2 separate regions of the Homo sapiens genome follow, and region 2 is linked to region 1. Evidence: promoter capture Hi-C in human tissues and cell types (Jung and others, 2019). All regions are on one chromosome and are shown on one strand. Each heading gives the region's core, a stretch centred on a gene start or on the middle of the fragment in contact. The rest is flanking DNA. Distances are from core to core; before and after follow the strand shown. Region 1 holds the start of ENTHD1 (ENTH domain containing 1). Region 2 overlaps ENTHD1 (ENTH domain containing 1).

The links. The method cuts DNA at HindIII sites, captures the fragments that hold promoters and counts their contacts. A contact is called where the count stands out against the background at its distance.
Region 2: a contact is called between a fragment that was not itself captured here and the fragment with the promoter of ENTHD1 in region 1, in 1 of the 25 tissues and cell types used here (small bowel).

Annotation. Positions count from the first base shown.
Region 1 is chr22:39,891,236-39,895,336 of GRCh38, forward strand. ENTHD1 (ENTH domain containing 1) reads right to left here and starts at 2,525. Exons shown (of 7, transcript NM_152512.4): 1 at 2,460-2,525. It also overlaps a transcript of GRAP2 not described here. The HindIII fragment of the contact is 22,421 bases long and covers 1-4,101 here.
Region 2 is chr22:39,849,155-39,852,902 of GRCh38, forward strand. All of the region lies in intron 3 of ENTHD1 (ENTH domain containing 1), which reads right to left. Among named protein-coding and RNA genes, the nearest start is that of ENTHD1, 43 kb to the right of the region's middle. The HindIII fragment of the contact is 5,099 bases long and covers 1-3,748 here.

The DNA of each region.
Region 1 (4,101 bases), core at 1,275-3,774:
TGTAACAATCTGTACTTACCTATTTGTCATTTGCTCAGTGCCTTTCTTCACCACCAAACTGGAAGCTCCTTGGGGGCAGGGACCTTGACGGTCTTATTTACCACTGTAATCCTATCCCTAACAGCTAATTAGCAACAGTAGATACTCAAGAAACATGTGTTGTGCAAATAACACAATGATTGAATGATTCTGCCTTGGGATAAACCTGCACTGATTCTATAGCTTTATAATTATAATCACTTTTTTTTTTTTTTTGAGATAAAGCCTCACTATGTAGCCCAGGCTGCTTGCAAACTCCTGGGCTCAAGCAATCCCCCTGCCTCAGCCTCCCAAGTAGCTGGGACTACAGGTGCATACCACCAAGCCTAACTAATTAAAAAAAAAATTTTATTTTTTTTTTTGAGATAGGGTCTTGCTCTGTCACCCAGGCTGGAGTGAAGTGGCACGATCTTGGCTCATTGCAACCTCCACCTCCCAGGTTCAAGCAATTCTCCTGCCTCAGCCTCCCAAGTAGCTGGGACTGCAGCCATGAGCCACCAAGCCCAGCTAATTTTTTGTATTTTTAGTAGAGACGGGGTTTCACCATATTGACCAGGGTGGTCTTGAACTCCTGACCTCAAGTGATCCGCCTGCCTCGGCCTCCCAGAGTGCTGGGATTACAGGTGTGAGCCACCGTGCTTGGCCTCAAAAAAAATTTTTTTTTTAGACACGAGTTCTTATTGGTTGCCCAGATGGTCACAAACTCCTATAAAGCATGATATTAAAAAAATAAATAAATAAAATCTAGCTCTCATAATTGTCAAGTAAAATTCTATAGTTTTGAGCAAATATTTTCAAATCATCAACAGATATTTCTTGAGTACCTACCATTTGTATAGCTTTGTGGAGAAATATAAAACATGAACCTCACATTAAAACTTACCATTCAGTTAAGGAGCTTTCTCTCCTAAATAATTCCCAGCAAAACAAATGATTACGTAGAAAAGGTCTTTTAGTGTTATTTTTAGATCTGCCCACTTTCACAATGCTGTTTCCTTCCCCCCATTTCATCTGAATTCTAACAGGAAATGATTTATCAGCTGGCATTAAACTATTGGTCCACGATCTTTTATCCCAATCCTTTGAGGCCAGATGATTTGTGGAAATTCTCTTTTGGGTGCGGTGGTAGGGGTGGAATTTTCAAGAGTAGTGCCATGTCTATACCATATATTACATGATACCCACAGTAAGGTGTGGAGCTGCTCTGAACAATTAAACACATTAACATGTCTGCAATAAAAACATGTAAATATTTGGAATAAAGACTACAAATGGCCTCAGGCCAAGTTTTACCACCAAATGAGTTGGAGGAAAAGTTGATTTCCAAAAGTTTTTGGATTTCAGGATTGAGAATAAGGAACAGAGGAGCTGAACTGACTTTATCCAAAGACTTGGGACAATAATGACAATAGCATCTAAGAGGCTGAGTGTCCAGAGCTATCTCTGAAAAGATGCATTTAAGGTGGAACTATGAGAAAAGAACAGCTCTTGTGTTTGTACAGGTTCTGCCTATAGACATGAGTTTGACTCGTAAGGAAATGAGCTCTGGCCAAGAATGCTACGGGAAAATGGTTATAGAGACTACCATGCCATTAGGAGGTGTTACTGTTTTGATGAAAAGAATACTGTCAGAGGCAGAGAATCTAATCTTTTCCAGCCCTAAGTGTGTGTTCATTAATTTATTCAACTAATAATCTTCCAGAGCTTACCATGTGGCAGGCTCCATTCTAGGAAATGGAGAAACAGGTGCACAAGACACAGTCCTCACACCCTGGAGTAAACAGCTACTCTTCATTGAACGCTCACAATGTGCTCACACCTGGGCCTTCACATGCCTCATCTCTCTCCTTTAATTAGGATTCAAAGCCATGATTTGAGGTCCTGCTTTGCCATTTCCTAACTAAGACTTAACAACTTCTCTAAGTCTCAGTTCCCTCATCCGCAACACAAAGAATAATCGCCAGACAGGGCCGTGGGGGAGGAAGAAACGAGATGCTTTGGAAAGAATTTTGAAAATGGCGGGTGGAGGCTGAGCAAGAATCAACTTTCTGTGGGCAGGGCCTTTCCTCGGCATCCTCGTCTTCATTCATACAACCCCCACTTCAGATGACGACTGTGTACCAGATGAGCCAGGTGCTGGGCGTTCGGCCACACAGAGAATCAGACCAGCAATTACCCTAGGAGAACCGGCAGTGGAGGGGAAGGCTGGACCTCAGGAAAGCCTCTAGAAGGAGAGAGGGACGTGATGGCGTCACGTCACGCCACAGGGATTTCACCTCCTGCGGATGGTAATGGCCTCGCCGCCCTCCCGCCCCCACCTGGACTCCGACGGTGCCGGCAAGAAACGGGAGGAGGGAAGGCAACCGATGTTTCCAGACCCGCCTTGAGCCCCACCACCACTCCCAAGCAGAGGCTGTTACCTGAGAGGAAAGTCGGCCGCTGCCCAACGACCAAACTTCCTCTCCCCAGGATATTCCACCTACTCCAGCCAGGCTCAAGGGCCCAGGCCGGTCCCCACTTCCGCTTCCTCACTTTCTGGCCTGGTGCAGTTCCTGTCAGGGCGTCAAGCAAGATGGTTGCAGATACCTGAGCTGGAGGGTACCAAGGGGAATGAAGGTAAGTGTCTTCGTTTCACAGGCTGCCGGGCTGTGACACTGCCCTAATCCTCCTTTCAAAGAATAAATTTTTTTTTTTTTTTGAGATCTGGGAAATAGTTTAATCAGACACTAGCATTTATTCTTAGCTGCTTTCTTAATTAAATAAAAATGAGTATAAATTAATTTACTAAATGTTCACAACGTAAAAACGGACATTAAAAAAAGAAAAAAAATGCCAAGGTAAGCTGATAATGTTTTTAAAAAGTAGACAATAAAATAATGTATGTAACTTAAAATTTGCCATGATAATTTATTCTTAAAATGGAAAATCAGTAAAATACTCAGACTTCTAGCATAATATCTCTTTTTTTTTATTTATTATTATTTAAGTTTTAAGGACATGGATGAAATTGGAAATCATCATTCTCAGTAAACTATCGCAAGAACAAAAAACCAAACACCGCATATTCTCACTCATAGGTGGGAATTGAACAATGAGAACACATGGACACAGGAAGGGGAACATCACACTCTGGGGACTGTTGTGGGGTGGGGGGAGGGGGGAGGGATAGCATTGGGAGATATACCTAATGCTAGATGACGAGTTAGTGGGTGCAGCGCACCAGCATGGCACATGAATACATTTTTAAAAGTGTGTTACTACTGTCATTTCAACTGACTAGAAATACCACCAGCACGTGATTGCCACCTCAAAGGACTGAGAATGTAATAGTAGTCTATGAAGAGCAGTGTGTGTGATGGACAATGATGGGGTAGCTCCAGTGACTGATGGCTTCAGGTGCCACTGACGGGTAATTGTTGATGTATTCAACTGATTTTCCGTGAGCACCCACTTTGTGCCAGACAGTAAGGACTCGGAGATAAAAAGCAGCCCTCTGCTGGATACGTTTACAGGCTAGTGGAGGTGACAGGCACCGTCAGAGAAGATTGTAACAAGATATGTATGGCATAGTAAGAGAGAAGAGATCATCTAATTCTGCCACTGAGTATTTAAGGGCAGGTTTCACAGAAGAGTTTACATCTGAATTGAATCTTAAAGGATGACAGGGAGTTCACTGGATAGACAAAGTAGAGGAGGACGTAAGAGGCAAAGGACACATCATGTGTAAAGGCATGAAAGCTGAGCCAGCCTATTATCTTGGAAAAACTACATGTACTGTAGTTACTACAACTGTCACAAAGGCTATTAGTGGAGCAGCAGAGGAAGGTTAAATAACAGAGGGAAGTTGGATCATGAAGAACCTTATCCATACTACAAGGTGATTTTATCCAGTAGGCATTGAAAAATGTAATCGAACCTGTGTTTTAATGGAATATTGACTAGGATGAGGGGAAAAGACAGAGGATAACAAAACACTTAGTAGACAAAAGCAACATTTGTTTCTATCTCCTACTACTTCAGTCATAATTATAATAATAATAGCCCACATTATTGATACTGACA
Region 2 (3,748 bases), core at 197-2,696, 43 kb before region 1:
AGGAATGTTTTGGATACTCTTGAACTTTTGATTCTTCCAGGTAAATTCTGGAATCAGTACATCAAATTCAACTCTTAAAACCCTTTTTGGATTTCGATTGTAACTGCACTGAATCAGCGGTTCTCTACTGGGAACAATTTGGCCCCCAGGGGACATTTGGCAATGTCTGCAGACTTTTTTGATTCAATACAACAGAAAGGGATGTTTGCTAATAGCATCCAGTGGGTACAGGCCAGGTATGATGCTAACTACCCTACAATGCATAGCTCCCACAACAAAGAATGATCTGTTTCAAAATATCAATAGTACCAAGGCTGAGAAACCCTCCACTAAATCTAGACAATTTGGAGAGAACTGACATGTTTACATTATTATTTTGATAAACATGGAATATCTTTCCATTTATATAGGTCTTTAATGTATTTCAATTAAACATTATAACCTACAGTGTACAGATTTTGTACTTCTTTTGTAAGACTTATTCCTAAATCAAGATTTTTGGCTATTATAAATGGTATCTTAAAAATTATGTTTAATATTTGTTACTGATATATAGAATATAACTTGATTTTATGTTTTGATGTTATAGCCAGCCATCTTTCTAAAACTCACTATTTTTAGTATGTCTGTAGATCTTTCGAAGTTTTCTATATGAAAATCCTATCGTTTACAAATGATGCTCGTTTCTTCCATTTTGATACTGACATTTTTAATTTCTCTTGCTTGTTTTACTGTGATGGCTAGGACCTCCACTACAAAGCTGACGTAGCAAGGAGAACTGATGTCCTTTTCTTCCACCTTATTCTAAAAGAAATAGTCCCACATTCAAATGTATGGAAATTTTTTATTTATATTTTTTGTTAACTTCAAATTTAATGGTATTTTGGTAAGAAAACGTGTCCTCTATGAAACAGATTTTTGGAAATGTAAAGACTTCCTTTATAACACATATCATCAATTATAAAATCCATATTAAAAAAAGTTTCATGTCCTTCACCTATCAATAAAGATGTTTTGAAATTATCTACTATGATGGTAGATATTTCAATTTATTCCTGTAGTTCTACCAACTTTTGCTTTATATACTTTGAAGTTATTTTACTGGGTATATTCACATTTAGAAATACTACATCTTCCTGGGAAATTGAGCATCTTATTATTATCCTTAATGCTCTTGGCTTTAAAGTCTCCTTTGCCTGTTATTAAGTAGCTACACCAGCCTTCTTTTAGTTTGTATATGCCTGACTTACCTTTTTCCATACATTGCTTTCAATCTTTATGTGAATTTATGCTTGCAGCATATATCTGGATTTCTCTTTCCCCAATCTGATAGTCTCTGCCTTTTAATAGGTGAGTTTAATCTATTACTATTTACTGTGATTATTAATCTATCTGGGCTTATTTCTATTATTTATTTTACTTTTTAATTTCCATTTGTTCCACTTTATGCTTTTTGCCCTTTATAAAATTTTATTTTTTTCTCATTCTACTTCTTCTTGCTACTTGTCTGGAATTTATGCACTCTATTTCTCTTCTTTTAAAGTTTATTCTTGAAAGTTTATCATGCACGTTTACCTTTAAAAGTTTACAGTCAAAGAATATTCATTACCTTCTCTTAAAAACACAAGGACCTTTAGAACACAACTCTGGACCTGCCCACCCCCACTTACATACCGTGGCTACCCACTATTCTAGTTGTCTTTTTCTTAACTCAAAAATTAGATTTATATATCAAATGTTTATTATACATACGTATCTATATTTATGTGTGTGTTTACCATTTATTCATTATTCTCTCTTGAATTTTCAACTATCTTTCTGGAATAATTTTCCTCTTTTTGAAGTATACCCTTTAATGCAGGTCTCATGGTTGTAAACTCTCTTCGTTTTTTTATTCATCTATAAATAACTATTTCACCCTCACCCTTAAATCATAGTCTTGCTGGTACACAATTATAGGCTGTTATTTTCCTTCAGCATTTCTAAGATACTATGTCACTGTCGTCAGGCTTCTACTGTAGAAGATGAGAAGCTTTCTGGTACAGTAATTAATTGTCATTCCTTTGTAGCAGTATCCTCCATATGGCTTAATTAATATTACTTTCATATTTTCCATTTTCTTTAGGCATATCTTCTAGCTCACTAAATACATTTTTTTAGTTCAGTAGTATTTCTCATTTCTGCAAGTTCCCTTTTTTCAAATTCATCCATTCAGTCCTAATAATCTCTTGATAACTGGTGATGCATGCGATTATATCCTTTATTTATGTAAATACACAGCTGTTCTGTATCTGACCTTTCCAATATCTACACTCTTTGGGGGATTAAGTATGTTCTTTGCTGCTTACCTCCTCCTGTTTTGGTGATATTGGATTTTGAGCTCATTGCTTGTCTTAAACTGGTGAAAATCCTATTGGACTTAACTTATGAAATGAGTACACTTTCTCAATTCAGTCCCCTTGAGGGTCTGGGTTCAGCATAGTGACCCAAGGCTTTCCTTCCCAATGCTCAAGACAGCCCCCAAACTCATTCTCTGATCTACTAACAACTGCTCTTAAGCAACTCAACCCCTACAGTTACCTGCAGCTTCCCACAGGCAGAATGCCAAGTCACTCTGACTTCAGCTCACATGTACTGTTCTTATTTTATTTTACATTTTTCAAAAAGAGAAACTTAGAGACTTCCCATACTTCTTGTGAGGCCAGTAGTGTCGCAAATAGTGTGTCACTTCCAGTCTTTGGTTATTGTGCAGTAAATGGAGTTCCTAGTCTCATTGCCTGAAGGAGACCTTTAATATTTTTTACTAAAAAACAGCATATAATTCCATTTTTATAAAAATAATTTCTCTCTAGCTATCCATCTCTCTATATGCATGTATAGATTTTTTAAAAATGCTGTCCAGGCATGATGGCTCACTCCTGTAATCCTAGCACTGTGGGAGGCTGAGGCGAGCAGATTGCTTAAGCCAAGGAGCTTGAGACCTTCCTGGGCAACATGGTGAAACTTTGTTTCTACCAAAAAAAAAAAACCCAAAAACCCAAATTTAGCCGGTGTGGTGGCGCATGCCTGCAGTCCCAGCTACTTGGGAGGCTGAGGTAGGAGAATCACCTGAGCCCAGGGAGGTCAAGGTGGCAGTGAACTGTGATGGTGCCACTGTACTTCAGCCTGGACAACAGAGTGAGAGCCTGTCTCACAAAAAAGATGCCTAGAATTGCAATCATCTGATATTAATGATGGTTATTTCTGAGTAATTATATAACAAGCCTATATTGTTTTTACAAGAGTATAATGGTTTTCCGAAACAAAAATAAAAAAGAAACAGTTATGCATACCCTAACAACAGGGATGCTTTCTGAGAAATGCATTGCTAGGCAATTTCATTGTTGTACAAACATCATAGAGTGTACTTACACACATTGAGATGGTAGAGCTTACTATACACCTGGGCTATATGGTATAGCCTATTGCTCCTAAGCAATGAACTTGTATAGCATATTACTGTACTGAATGTGGTAGGCAATTGTAACACAAGGACAATTGTAACACAATGGTAAGAATTTGTGTGTCTAAACATATCTAAACATAGAAAAGGTACAGTAAAAATATAATCTTATGGGACCAGTATCATACACGCAGTCCACCATTGACTGAAACATCATTATATGACACATGACTATTCTGAGATGTTAACAGTGGTCGGTTTAGGGTGGTACAGATACAAATTATTTTTATATATTTATTTTTAAAT